3 separate regions of the Homo sapiens genome follow, and regions 1 and 3 are each linked to region 2. Evidence: promoter capture Hi-C in human tissues and cell types (Jung and others, 2019). All regions are on one chromosome and are shown on one strand. Each heading gives the region's core, a stretch centred on a gene start or on the middle of the fragment in contact. The rest is flanking DNA. Distances are from core to core; before and after follow the strand shown. Region 1 overlaps ATOSA (atos homolog A). Region 2 holds the start of MYO5C (myosin VC). Region 3 overlaps ONECUT1 (one cut homeobox 1).

Region 1 (5,043 bases), core at 727-3,226, 300 kb after region 2:
TTAATGACAAAAGTCATTGTTACTAATGTCCTTGAAAACCTAGAAGGTTGTGGAGAGGGGTGTTAGGAGAGGAAGCAGTTGGGCCAGATAGTAAGTTAGGAAATTCAAGCAGCAAGACTAGGCTATAATGTTCAATGCCTACAGTAATCTGCATTTCTCAAAAGTAACACCTAAAATGAAAACCCAGATTTGACTCCATATTTGATACCATCACTGTCAACTTTTTACAGACCTGCATGGCTAGCTACTTGTCTCTCTTTGTCTTTTGGAAGAGGGCTGATACTAATCATATACTAGTACTCAGTATTGTTTTTGCAAATGAATGCTTATATTATCCACAAGCCATTGGAATAAAAAAATTGGAAAGGTGAAATCATAAGATTGATCTTAAGGCTCAACACTATAACTCAGAGGTGTCCAATCTTTTGGCTTCCCTGGGCCACACTGGTAGAAGAATTGTCTTGGGCCACACATAAAATATACTAACACTAACAATAGCTGATGAGCTAAAAAACAAAAATCACACAAAAAAATCTCATAATGTTTTAAGAATGTTTACAAATTTGTGTTGGGTTACATTCAAAGCCTTCCTGGGTTGCATGTGGGCTGTAGGCCGGACAAGCTTGCTGTAACTCCTCTTAGTTATTTCACTCTCCATTAAGACATTAGCGTGAGTCTGAAGTAGCTAGTATCCTAAAGAACTCTAGGATTAGGCCAGTTGTGGTGGCTCATGCCTGTAATCCCAACACTTGGAAGGCCAAAGTGGGAGGTCTGCTTGAGGCCAGGAGTTCAAGACCAGCCTGGGCAATATAGGGAGGCCCTGCCTCTACAAAACATAAAAATTAGCTAGGCATGGTGGCGCATATCTGTAGACCCAGCTATTTAGGAGCTCCAAGGCAAGAGGATGGTTTGAGGCCAGAAGTTTGAGGCTACAGTGGGCTATGACTGCACCACTGCATTCCAGCCTAGGCAAGAGAGTGAGATGCTGTCAAAAAAAAAAAAGAACCCTAGGATTAGAAAAAAATAGGCCCAAAGACAAACCAAACCGAAAAGGGAGTAAAAGGGCCATACAGAAGCCTTATGTCACCAAAGCCTTGTAGGACTAGAGGACACAGTGCACACTAAGCATTTGAGAATGTGTGTGAACTCAGCAAGATGGAATTACAGTGTCACTAATCAATTTTTATCATTTTTTCAAGACAAAGAGAAATAAGTACATTTTTAGTACCATCCTTAAATGCAAAAGAGGTTATCTGTTGTTTGAACTAGCTTAGAAAGAAGTTGTGAGGTAATATTTTGGCATATTAGTTTGTATTCAGCTGTTAGGAAATGATTTATATTTTCAAGTACTGCATCAAAGCACTTAAATTTGTCATTAAGTTGGTTGATTTGGCAGGAAAACATACAATATAAAAAATACTTGCCATATAAGGAGAGGGAGCATTGTCATCTGAAACACTGTAGAATGACACTTCAACTGGAAGAGTCAAATGTGTGGGGCAGAAAGCACCACTTGCCCCTACCTCGGCAGTAAAACCATCAACAATGCCGAGAGGATCGAAACGATAGTTCAAGACAGATTCCTGGAAGACAAAATAATTTTAAAAACTCAATTAAAAAAGCTAACACATTCATTTTTTTTCTATTTAAAGAAATATACACTTAGTCTAAAGGCAGAGAAGTGATTAAAAGAAATATATTACTATGCTTTCTAGCACTAGAACAGTGGTTGTTACCATTGCCATGTCCTTATTTCTGCTTTTCATCTGACTTGAAGTCAACTGCATCTCCCATCAGTCTTCTACCATCCTACAACAGTTTGGTCTTCTCTCACTATTCCAACTCACACTGAACTCTCCTGCAACTTCAGCATTAGTTAGGCCTAATTGTTTACTATGTTGTTTTTATATCTGTAAATTTAAAAATATGCTCTATCAGAGCAGGTATTTATCCCTCACAGTGCCTATTCATGGTGCTAGACACAGAGAAACACCTGAAAACCTAACAGGTTATATATGGAAGTTCCATCAAAAGATGAAGTCAAGCACTTATAATTCTAACCGAGAAATAATTGCTTCTCTTATAAATACTGTAGTATGTGATATGTTTTAGTTTAAAACATAAAAATGTGCATTTATAAAAAGTTTAGAAGTACAGAAATAGTACAGAAGCTCCTTATCCATCCCTCCCCCAAGGTCACTCACTGAGATAACTACTTTTAAAATTTAGTGGTTATTTTCCCACTTATGAGAAACATTTAAAACTTTTCACAAGCTTTATTTTATATAAATATATCAACACATATATGTATACATCATGAAATGTGAGTAGCATTCCTTTGATTAATTCTTTGAAAAGAAATGCTACAAAGCCTCATGATTCTAAAAGTTTGTGTAGTCTAAATGTGAAACAGTGACATATCAGCAATTCTAATCTCCTGATCAAAAAGATAAAGCCAAAAGACCTGGGTCACAATCAACCTTCTATATCTCCTTTTTGCCCTCTAATCAATCCAATCCATATCCTGTTGATTTTACCTCTCAGTCTCAGGGCCTCATTTCCATCCCCACTACTACCACTATCCTAGTGACCTAGGTGATCCTCATAACCTCTCCTCTGAATAAATGCTACATCTTCTAATTAGTCTTTCCATCTGTAGTGTATCCTCTGTACTACTGCCAGAGTTCTTTTTCTTTTTTTGAAAAAAGCCTTATAGTATCACCTACCACTTAAAAACTTTGTTTCCTGCTGTCTATAGGATGAGGTCAACATTCATAGCACAGCACTTAAGCTCCACCATGCCTCTCATTTCATCTCTCCCAACATATACAGAGTCCCATGCTCTAGCTCCAGTTGATCCTTTCCAACATTGCCATGCTCTTTTACGTTTGCACATGAAGTTCCCTTTGTCTAGAATCTCTGATTCCTGAACAAATTTACCTGGCAAATTCCTTCTCATCTTTTGTGACCAAGCTCAAATGACAGCTCCTCAGTAAAGCTTTCCTCAATCCTTTTAGCAGAGATAGTAGATACACAAGTACTAGGCAACTTCTATTACAATGCTAATTACTTGAGTTTATAAATTATTTACTCACCTGGGTAAATTATATGCCCACCTTCTCCAGTAGACAATAAACGTCTCTAAGGCAGGAACTTTATCATTTAAACTTTGTATTCCTAGCACATAGTAAGTACTCAACAAATATTTCCCAAATAAAAAGTCTATTCTGAAGGTGCAAAAAATTTTCATAGGAGAGGTACATACAAAAATGTTTATGGATTAAGGCAAATGACCAATATTAGTTGCTGACTTTATCTGAGATATTTTAGATTTTTGTAAATTTAATATACAAGCATATATGCTAGGCCCCACTCAGTGCAGTATGACAAGAAAAAAAAAAAAGGCACGAAAATAAAAAAGCCAAAACTATCCCTATTTATAGATGACAAGACTGTCTATGTAGAAAAATCCCAAGGATTATTTTTTAAAATCTACTGAAATTAGTGAGTGAGTTGAGCAAGATCACTGGCGATTTTTTGTAGATAACACACACACACATACATTCATTTAAAAATACTAGCAATGAACAATTGACAATTAATTTTTAAGTTACAATATCCCAGAAAACATGAAATACTTAGGTATACATCTACAAAAAGATATCAAAAATCTGGGCTAGGCGTGGTGGCTTACACTTGTAATCCCAGCAGTTTGGGAGACTGAGGTGAGTAGACTGCTTGAGGCCAGGAGTTTACGAAAAGCCTGTGCAAACACAGCAGGGCCCTATTTCTACAAAAATTTTTTAAAAAATTAGCTGGGTGTGGTGGTACAAGCGTAGAGTCCTAGCTACTTGGGAGGCTGAGGTGGGATGAATGCTTCAACCCAGGAGATCCAGGCTGCAGTGAGGTATGATCACGCAGCTACACTCCAGCCTGGGTGACAGAGAAAAGTCCCTACCCCTATTAAAAATAAAAAAGATGTCCAAGATATGCATGCTAAAAACTATAAAACACTGATGAAACAAATAAAAGAATATATAAATAAATGAATTTCAGGGATTGAAAGACTTTATATTTTTAAGATGTCAATTTTCCTCCAATCGACCTGTATTAATGTAGGCCAAACAAAATCTCAGCAGGCTATTTTGTGGAAATAGACAAGATGATTCTAAAATTTATATGAAAAGATAAAGGAGCTAGAATAGTTTAAGCAATTCTGAGAAAGAACAATAAAGTTAGGACTCACATTACCTGATTTCAAGACTAGAAAATTGAACATCCATATGCGTAAAAGGGAACCTTGATCGCACACCTCCTATCATGTAAAAATTAACTCAAAATAGATCACAGATCTAAACGTATGAGCTAATACAAACTTTCAGAAGAAAACAGAAAAAAAGCTTTGTGACCTTGGGTTGGGCCAGTGGTTCTCACCCAGGGGATATATGGTAATATATGAAGACATTTTTGGTTGCTAGAACTAGGCATGGGGGTACTATTGGAATCAAGTGGGTAGAGGCCAGAGATTCTGCTAAACATCCCACAATGCACAAACAGCCCTTCAGAAGAATTATCTAACTCAAATATCAACAGTATTAGTGTAAAGAAGCCTTGGGCTAGGCAATGTTTTTTTAGATTCAACATCAAAAGTAAGATTCATAAAGAAAATTCGACATCAAAAAACTTAAAATCTTTTACTCTTGTAAAGACACTATCACAAAAATGTACAGCCAAACTTCAGACTTGGAAAAAATATTTGGAAAACATATATGCTTATTTGGCAAGTAAGTGCAGGAAAAGAGGATCAACATCAATAGTCATCAGGGAAATACAAATTAAAACCACAATAATTAAGATGAAAATGACTGATCAGTGCAAACAATGGCAAGGATGTGGAAGAACTAGAACTCTCATACGATGCTGATGCAAATTAAAATGGTATAATCACTTTGGAAAATAGCTTGGCAGTTTCTTAACAGTTAAACTATTCTATTTTATTCTGTTCTGTTCTGTTCTATTCTATTCTATTCTATTCTATTCTAT
Region 2 (4,990 bases), core at 1,696-4,195:
GGTGGAGTTCGTGTGCCAAGGCACGCAGTGGCAACGTGCAAGCAAGGCATTGAGGGAATGGCAAGGAGTCTGGCAGAGCATGAGCCAGGTAAGAGCAGGAAGGCAGGGAGAGAGGCAGGACCTCGTGGCTGGTCAGTGAGTCTGAAAGCAATGGGAGCCTCTAGAGGTGGTAGAGCAGAGAATGCCAGACCGGCTCTTCTTAAGAGAGATTTCAAATAGGGGAACTGCTGCTCTGAACATTTCTAAGGCATGGCACCTGTAGCTTTTCAAAAGAGATGGATGATTTTACACCTCACCTGGCAGCGATTGCTCCCCTCACCAAGACTTCTCCTGGAGTTCCCTCTTCCCTGTTCCCACAGGGTGGCTTCCAGCTCCCCTGTTAGCTCCTCCTCTGGATGGCTCCATCTCAGCCCTTCTGCTTCCTCTCACTCCTTGCACAGATGCATTCCCCGCTGGCCTGTCCCTCACCCTCTTCTCTGTCTGCCTTCTCCCACCTTGGTGAGACCCTCAGTGTCTTGTTGGCTTCAGTGACCACCTCTGGGCAGAAGACCCTCGGCAGGGCCCATCCCCTCCCTCTGACACCTCCCACCCTGCAAGGCACCTTCCCTTGGAAGCCCCCTCACCCCTTCAACCCCTGCAAATACAGAACTTGCCTGATGACTTTCTTAAGAAATATTTCCTCCTCATGCCACATCCTTAATTCACTCAAGGGCACCACCCTGCTGTCTCTCATACAGACTCTAACCTCAAATGTCATCCTTGGCTGGTCCCTTCAACCCCCACCCCACTCCCCAGTCCAGCCTCTCAGCCTCACCTGCCTCCACCCTCCATGGCCAACACTGCAGCTCTAATTCTTTTCCAACAGCTGGAATGACCTGAGAATTCAGCTACGTGACCCCGGCCTCTCTCCTCCACAGCCCAAGGGCGCTGCTGGCATACATAACAAATCTAACAGTCCTAACACACCACCCTTGATTCTGCCAGCCCCCACTCAAAACCCACACTGGGGAATAAAGCCCTGACCTCGCTCTCTGGCTGCCATGGCCCTCCCCTTCACACCTCCAGAACAGACAAAATGGGGGCTAACTGCCCACCAGGAAGGGAGGTGGCAGCCTAGGAACACAGGTGTCTACGTGGACACAAGGTCAGTGGGAATGGCCATCAGGCTGCGTCAGTCTCTGGGATTCTCAGATTCTCATTCCCTCCAAGCTTGTACCTTTAAACTCCTTCCTATCAGTTTTCTTACATTGTGCCTGGTACTTACTAGACATTTAATAAATATCTGAGGTTTGAGGCACCTAAAAATAGGGGTGCTTGCACCTGTGTGTTTCTGCTTCTGGAAATACTGTCACCTCAAATAGGTTCAGCAGCAGCATTTTTCTCTGTCCTCCAAAGTATCGTCGAAGACTAGTCCAAGACTTTTCTTTCACTTCCAGTAAACTGAAGGCTGAAGAAGCGCTGTTGGCTGTCTGAGGGCTCACAGTCTCACTGGTGAAAATATTCTAGAACAAAACTAGGGCAATTCAAACACTGTCCATTTAGAACTCCAGTTAATGGAGATGCAATAGAGGAGAAACTACAGTTCGGTTGCTTTGTGTCCGGACTGTTACTAAGTAATCAAAGTAGAAGAAAAACGTTTGCTTAAACCATTGAAACATGATTTTTTAAATAACTATCTTTTCTATCTACAGCAAAAGCATCTTTTAAAGTAGAAAGCTAGAGCATGTGTCCGGGGAAATGGATGGATTCTAGTTCCACTCGTCTGAATACTGAGGTCTCTAGATTTCCCCAACTGGTGTATAGGAGGATCAGGCTTTATGGCTATTCAAATGGATTTTTTTTTTCAAAAGTGCTAACACTGTCACACTCTTTATCCAAATAATTACCCAAGCCCATCTCAGAGGGTTTGGGACATATGTGGGAACGCTGCCCTTCCGAGGTAAGAGGTGGAGCCCCAGCCAGCAGAAAGGAAGCTTCTGAGGAATGCTCTAGTGTTTCCCAGAGTCAGGGTATATGAAAGGCGCTTTAGAAACTGTGGTGTTTGTACTGTTGCTAACAGTACAGATGTTAGGCAAAGAGCCTACGACTGCACCTCGTGGCCCCTGGGCTCCCCAAGCGCTTGGTGCCACTGCAGTGCCCTCAAGCCTGTGACCCAGGCTGCTTCAGCTTCTGATGAGCCTACATGCACGTTCACGCACTTTGAAGACACAGAATTCTAGAAAGCAGCCCGAACACTGCGGCCATAAGCTTCTATGCCAGCTCGTTCAAGGGGGTCCCAGGAGGGGCCAGGAGACTGGCCGGCGTCTCAGCTTCCTACGTCCGCATGGGCAACTCTGATTCCACCCGTGGTGTGGTAGGAAGGGACCGAGGCGCTCCAGTCCCGGGAGATGGGGACGCACGCGCGACCCCTGGGCACTGGGGATTCTAGGCCCCGAGGCCGGAGCGGCGGAGGGGGCGGCCCCTCCCACAGGGTCTTCCCACCCACAGGGCACCCAGGCGCAGCGGAGCCAGGAGGGGGCTTACCCGCGGGCAGGGACGGAGCACGCCGGGGCCCTGGAGGGGCGACGCTCGCTCGTGTCCCCGGTCCCCGTGGCCCCTCCGCGGCGCCTCCGCGGCCCCCAGCGCGCGCCCGCCCGCCCTGCCGTGTCAGGTGCGCAGGTGTGGCAGGTGTGGCCCGGGCGCCAGGTCGAGTCAGCGTTAGCAGGGCCGGCTCCCCCACAGCGCTCCCAGGAGCCCAGCGGACCCTCCTACCTGCGTGTACAGCTCGGCCACCGCCATGGGCAGGAGGGGCCGGGGCCAGGCCGGGGCTGCCGAACGTGCGAGGCTCGGGGGCTGGGCCTGCGCCGCAGAGGCCGGGCGCAGGAGAGACCGCCGCGGAAATCACCGCCGGGCCATCTTGCCCAAAGTTTTCCAACGGCCTCCTGTTCCCGTTCCCGAGTTGGCGGCGAGGGGAGGGGGCAGCGGCGGGATTGGTCCCTCCAAGCTTGGCCCGGCTAGTCGGCGCTGCCATTGGCCGGGGCCGGGCGGCTGCACCTGGCGGGAGCGCGGGTGGAGAAGGTTGGGGCCCGGGGCGCGCTGCCAGGCAGGAACAGATGCATCCGGAGGCTGCCCGGCCCGAGTGTTAGCTCCTCAAAGAGCAGAGGATACGACCATTTAAATGGAAGACCCAAGGGAATCAACGTACTGAACACAAAGAAATGTGTTAAGAGTCCAGCAAGGTCATCGTATTCAAAATCAAATACAAAAATAAGTAATGGTCCTTTATATGAGCATTGTCTATGCAATACAAGATATTTACAATATTAGTGAAAATATAAAGTATCCAGAGATTACACTCGCAAAAATGCCCTTGGCCTTTGTGGAGAAAATGTTTAAAATTCTCTTAAAGAGCTTAAAAGAAGGCCCAGGTAAACGGGAGACATGCCATTTTCCTGGCTGGGAATATTTAATATGGTCAAGGTGTCACTTCTACCCAAATCAATATATATGCCTAATATATTGGCGTCAGAATCCTACAGAACTTTTGGAGAATTGTACAATGATTCTATATTTCATATAGAATAAAAGCCCTGTATAACTAAGACAATTCTCAAAGAGGAGAGATTTGTCCTGCCATATATTTAGGGACATAACAAAGCAGTAGTCATTAAAACAGTGTGACACTTGCGTGAGAACGGATACGTGAGTAATGGAACATGCTGGAGCCCCCCAGCAGGGCCCTACATTATACGGTAGCCTTAAGGACCAGATAGGGAAATAAAATAATATTTATTAGATGGGCCCGTTATATGGAAAAACAATAAAAGCAGATCCGTGGCAAACACTGCATCCAAAAATAAGCTCCAGATGGATTCACGATTAAAACTTAAAACCGGGAAATTATTAGGAATAAAAGAGGGATAATATCTTTAAAATGTTGGGTTATAGTAGTTTCCATATAGAAGAATTGTTAATCGGTTAAAGAAAAGAAATCCAATTTTTAAAACTGACAAAAATTAATAGGCAATTCACAGATGGGGACACTTAAATGGCTTGTTAGCATACAAGGAGATGTCAACTTTAGCAGTAATCAGATAAATACAAATGAAAACAACAATGAGATATTGCTTTTTACCCATCATATTGGCAAAAACATTTAGGTTAGACAATCTCAGATACTGCCTAGGATGTGAGAAAATAAAAACTTGGCCGGGCGCGGTGGCTCACGCCTGTAATCCCAGCACTTTGGGAGGCCGAGGCGGGCGGATCACGAGGTCAGGAGATCGAGACCATCCTGGCTAACACGGTGAAACCCCGTCTCTACTAAAAATACAAAAAATTAGCCGGGCGAGGTGGCGGGCGCCTGTAGTCCCAGCTACTCGGGAGGCTGAGGCAGGAGAATGGCGTGAACCCCAGGGGGCGGAGCCTGCAGTGAGCCGAGATTGCGCCACTGCACTCCAGCCTGGGCGACAGAGCGAGACTCCGTCTCAAAAAAAAAAAAAAAATAAATAAAAAAAATAAAAACTTTTTTTGCTTACATAACTGGTGGGAATATACTGCCATCCTGGAGAGCAATTTGAGAATAGTTATGAAAATAAATGTAGGCAGAAAAATTCTCACAGTCACCCAAAGAGACAGTTAAGTAGATGTTCATCACAACATAGTTATTTATCAAAGAGTTGGAAGCATCTAAATATCAATAGGGGAATAAATAAAATAGTATATACATGGCAGACAGCAGAGAAAAATAAAAAAAGAAATAGTATATACATGTAAAACTCTACAGCTGTTAGTAGGAATAGACATGATCTACTTGACTCAGAAATAAAAAACAATGTTGAATAGATGTCTAGCCCAAGTCTTTAATATTTAAAAACTCACAAAAACTGCAATACTGAATATTGTTCATGGGTACAAGTATGTGTGAATAGAGGTAAGGAGGATAAATTACAAAGTCATTCATTAAATATGCAAGAGTGGATACCTATGAGGGAGAGAAATGGAATCGGAG
Region 3 (5,038 bases), core at 1,274-3,773, 480 kb after region 2:
TGTGTGAGAGAGACAGAGAGAGAGAAAGAGAGAGAGAGAGAGGTAGATTACTGGGTACCAGAGTTCCCACTGTGCAGGAAAAGACATATAAATAGGGAATGGGGGAAGGCAGGGAAAAATCCTCTGAGGATATATTGCAATTGGAGGTGGAGGTACTGGTATGAACTAATGATTTTAGAAATACGTACATGAGCACGTATATAAGCATGTTTATGCGTACATGGATATTATGTATGTATGATGTGTATACACATATTTGTATGTGTGTGTAAATAAATGTATATGTATCTGTTTCCTGGCTTTGTCTGAGAGGGTAGAAAACCAAAAGTCACCCTAAAGCCATGAGCACACTTAGTGCCTAGGCTGTCTTGGACTCTAACATGTTTCCCCACCAGGATAAACCAGGGCTCATCAAAGAAGTGGCACATTCTAGGATTGGGGCAGAATATGTACCAAATGAGCTTGGAACATCTTATGATGCCAGAAAGTTAAAAAAAAATGTAAGCATTGTCATAGGGACACAGGAGTCAGAGGGAAAGGGCTCTCGTCAGTGAAATCTGGGACAATTTGAGCACCAAAATAGTTAAGTACAGTAATGAATTGTAAGCCACTGGAAAAAAAAGGAATGCCTGAGTCCACTCCAATCATAAATGGATAATGAGAGAGAAGGAAGGCTCTTGCAAATATCCTCTCTCTCTATCTATATGTTGAATAAATGAATGCTATTCATGATATATTTGGGAAAGGACAGGGATGATGGAATTACCAGAGATTTTTTATTGTCTCCATTATTCTTTTATGTGTTTTCAAATACTCCACCATAAATTTAATAATGGGATTTTTTAGTTTGAAAAGTTACAAAGTAGTAGTATGTACCATCCCATAGGGAAAAGATTGGAAGGATACACACACACACACACACACACACACACACACACACACACACAGAGGGTTATCTGTGTGGGGTGCTGTGGGTGATTCTTTTATTTTTTTTCTTTATTAGTGTTTTACCCTGCAGCTCCAGCTCAAAGGATGTATATAATACTAATAATTTGCAACAAGAAATGAAGTTATTTATTTATTTATTTATTTATTTTTTGAGACAGAGTTTCGCTCTTGTTGCCCAAGCTGGAGTGCAATGGCTTGATCTTGGCTCATTGCAACCTCCGCCTCCAGGGTTCAAGTGATTCTCCTGCCTCAGCCTCCCAAATAGCTGGGACTACAGGCAAGCGCCACCATGCCCAGCTAATTTTGTATTTTTAGTAGAGACGGGGTTTCACCATGTTGCTTAGGCTGGTCTTGAAATCCTGACCTCACGTGATCCTCCCACCTCGCCCTCCCAAAGTGCTGGGATAACAGGCGTGAGCCACCGCACCTGGCCAGAAGTTACCTTTTAAAAAAGCATTGAAATTAAAACATAAATTAAGAAATAAGATACAAGGTGCTTGAACATGGTAAGTATCAAACAAATGTTAAAAAAAATTTACTAAGGCTATGTCATGACAAAAGCAGAATTCAAAAAAGTATATATAAGCGGTACAATAATTAACTTTTTGGAAAAAATCTCCACCCTTGTGTTGAGGGTAGTGCTCCAAAATGATATTGTAGTTGTGTCTGAGTGTATTTATTACTTTAAAAGAGGAAACTGTATGGTAGATATAATGTTTTATAAGCTTGCATTTTGAACATCTTTCACACATTGAATTGTCTTTCATAAAAGAGCTAGAATAAGAGGTTGAGGTGGGCAGATCACCTGAGGTCAGGAGTTCAAGACCAGCCTGGCTAACATGGCGAAACTCTGTCTCTACTGAAAATACAAATTGTAGCCTGGTGCAGTGGTACACACCTGTAATCCCAGCTACTCGGGAGGCTGAGGCAGGAGAATCACTTGAACCCAGGAGGCGGAGGTTGTAGTGAGCTGAGATTGCGCCACTGCACTCCAGCCTGGGTGACAGAGCAAGACTGTCTAAAAAAAAAAAAAAAGAGCTAGAATAAGCTAGAATAAGGGGACCACCACTGAAGCACTTGGGAGCATTTTCAACCTACGCAGAGGGGTGGTCACCCTGTACTACTTCTCTTTTAATTTCATTACTCAGATAATTGCACTGGGCAGCATCTTCTAGGGAGGCAATTTTCTGGCCAAATAATTAAAAGAAGTAAGAGCCATTTAGTACTTTCCCTAGAAAGTTATCTTTTGGGAGATGGGAGAGGCCCTTGATTATTTTTAAAGAGGAACACACACACACACACACACACACACACACACACACACACTCTTAAAGAGCCATAGACTATCTCTTAAGAATATACAAGAAACTGGTAACAGGGGTTTCTTCTAAGGGAGGGGGACTTGGGGACTTAGGGAATATGATTGGGAGGAAAACTTGTTTTTTTCTGTATACATTTTCATGCTGTTCAAATTAAAATAATGATGTGCATTTAGTATATGTTCAAAATATTTATTAATTAAAAACAATTCTTTAAAAAAGTCTGTTGCTTATGGAACAACTGTGAAAATAACTAGATCGGAGGAAAGTAAAATGTGTTTTCTTATGAAAATATGCTTGCCATTAAACTGATTAGTTTCCATCACAGATAGATTTGTAAGTGACTCAAACCAAGACTTTCCAACATTTGTCTGCCCCACCTACATGTCTGTGCTTCTGTCTACTCTGCTGTTCTCTTTGTTTATAGATAGACAGCTCTTGAGCTACCATTACTGGGGAGTTACTTTTGTTTCTCTAACAGCAGGGATGGATTTGGGCTAACCCCTTCCACTGGTTCTTCAGGGCTCCTTGTACCCAGGGAAGTGGCTGGATGGAATGTGAGTAACCATCACTGCCCACCAACACCGGGAAGTGAAAACTGGACCCAAAGGACCCACAATCTTCACCTCATTAGCATCGTGCTCACATCATGTCTCTCTCAGTAAGTAACAGGTTCCGGTGAGGCAGAAACAATCTAACTGATTGGATGCCTCAAATCTGTACAGAAGCCAGAGAGCCCACCTATCGTAGGAATGTATTTGAGAGGGTGAACTATTCTGAAACATTCCATCTTTATATTGACATCCACATAACCACTCTGCAGCTAAAGGTATATCCAAGCACCCAGCTTCCCATGCCAGAAGCAAGGAGCCTGTTCCATTTCCATTTTCACTCTCCACCATGTCTACTCGACTTTAGAAATAGCTCTCAAATTTTGCCACCCATTTTCTCCACCTTTGCTGACAATGACATATAATCAGACCCTCAGAATCTATTGCCACTTCTAGCTAGTCCCTTGCGACTTTTCCTCCCATTATCTTCCTCTCCAGCATGCTTTCAAAAGCACAAATCTGACCATTTCATTCCACAACAGGTCACAACTTCCTTTGGGCTGCACCAACACACCAGGTCCTTTGTCATCTCCTTTCAGTCTCCTTTCCAGTTTTCCTGGCTGCTCCCACAGAACTTTATTTCTACCCAGATCAGAGACTTTGTCGGTATTTATTTTCCTGCATGCTTCCTCCCTGTGAGCTCCTTCAGGATACAATAAACACCTCATTCCTCTTTCGTGCCCCTGTACTCAGCCTAGTGCCTGGCACATAGGAGGCACCCGATCAGTGTTTGGGCGAATGAAGGAAAACAGACCTTTTGAGTGATGTAACATGGCCATCAGTGGTGCTTCTCAGACTTTAATGGACACAAGAATTTCCTGGGGGTCTTGCTGAAATGCAGATTCAGGTTCAGTAGGTGTGGGGTGGAACCTGAGGGTCTACAGTTCTTACAAGTTCCCAGGTGAGGTCGATGTTGCTGTTTAGGGAGCCACACTTTGAGTAGTGAGGACCTATAGAACATTAATAACTTTTTTAGATGGAGGAGCATGTTGAATCAATTATTCCTCTAAGGATCTTGAAGTTTTGAGTGAACTTTTGATTTCAAAAAGATCAAAAGAAGTAAAAGATTTTATAAACACACACAAACACACAGTTATACAGAGTAAGCTACAGAGCTATAGGTTATTCCAGAAGTAAGTAGGAAAAGGGAGTAAAAATAAGAGTCATCTACCCTTAAATTCTCAATACCATTATTCTAATTTGCCACTTGAATTTATATTAGAATCACCGGGGAAACTTTTTAAGCAGCACATATTCTCCCCCCTTCTCTCCCTCCAATCTGATTTGCTCTTCTAGAGGAATAGGACACCCTCAGTCCATGGCTCCCTACCACTGAAAACCACAGCTTTGGAGAATGCTTTTGTAATTGATGGCAATGTTTTGTGTCACTCAGCTGTGCTGGGAAAGAAACAAGCTTTTAGCTTCATAGTAATTCTGATCTAAGAGCTCTTCTACAAAAGGAGTTTAGCCAGGGCCCCCACGCATGCTGTTGTTCCCTCTTCCTGGAAACTTCTTCCTCCATTTCTGTCCCAAGTCCTACTCATCCTCCAGATCTTCAAAATTGTCCCTTCATCACACCTTAAACTCCTCCTTCCTGGAAAACACACACACACACACACACACACACACACACACACACACAAAAAAACATGTAAAGTTATTTGTTCTCTTCCCTGCTAGACTGTGAGTTCCAAAGAAAAATTGTGTTGTACATTCCATTCCCGGTCCTGAGCACGGAACTTGCTACAGCAGGTGCTCAAATGAGTGAAAAAATTAACTCTTTTTTCCATATTTAATGAAATTCCCTCTTTTACTTATTTTATCCTCCCGTCCAAAAATGGCTGAATGTAATTCCTATGAGAGCTGATATTTAGTATGGGGCTAGAACCTGCTTAAATGACAATAGAGTATGTCTTGAGGTTTGTTTGGTCTGAATTGCTTGGGTTGAGGAATCAGACAAAAACAATGTTTCTACCTCCTCAATGTTAAAAATAAATAATAATCACTGCCTACCAAACAATATGTATCATATATGTAAGATATGAAGCACAAAAACAAAATGAACATCTATGAGTCCACCACTCAATAAAAGAACTAGAACATTAGTTGCCTTGTGAAGCTACAGGGTGTTCTTGCCTCTTATCTCCCTGCCTTCCCCTA

The links. The method cuts DNA at HindIII sites, captures the fragments that hold promoters and counts their contacts. A contact is called where the count stands out against the background at its distance.
Region 1: a contact is called between a fragment that was not itself captured here and the fragment with the promoter of MYO5C in region 2, in 2 of the 25 tissues and cell types used here (dorsolateral prefrontal cortex and lymphoblastoid cells).
Region 3: a contact is called between a fragment that was not itself captured here and the fragment with the promoter of MYO5C in region 2, in 1 of the 25 tissues and cell types used here (lymphoblastoid cells).

Annotation. Positions count from the first base shown.
Region 1 is chr15:52,592,154-52,597,196 of GRCh38, forward strand. ATOSA (atos homolog A) reads right to left here. Exons shown (of 13, transcript NM_001385016.1): 10 at 1,425-1,583. Among named protein-coding and RNA genes, the nearest start is that of ARPP19, 26 kb to the left of the region's middle. The HindIII fragment of the contact is 3,446 bases long and covers 254-3,699 here.
Region 2 is chr15:52,292,859-52,297,848 of GRCh38, forward strand. MYO5C (myosin VC) reads right to left here and starts at 2,946. Exons shown (of 41, transcript NM_018728.4): 1 at 2,752-2,946. The coding sequence starts at 2,778. It overlaps LOC105370819 (a long non-coding RNA gene), which reads left to right and starts at 2,026. Exons shown (of 4, transcript XR_932250.3): 1 at 2,026-2,353. RefSeq lists enhancers at 76-125, 999-1,168 and a silencer at 2,610-2,769. The HindIII fragment of the contact is 3,447 bases long and covers 1,592-4,990 here.
Region 3 is chr15:52,773,219-52,778,256 of GRCh38, forward strand. The region is part of intron 1 of ONECUT1 (one cut homeobox 1); the gene reads right to left. Among named protein-coding and RNA genes, the nearest start is that of ONECUT1, 15 kb to the right of the region's middle. The HindIII fragment of the contact is 4,815 bases long and covers 117-4,931 here.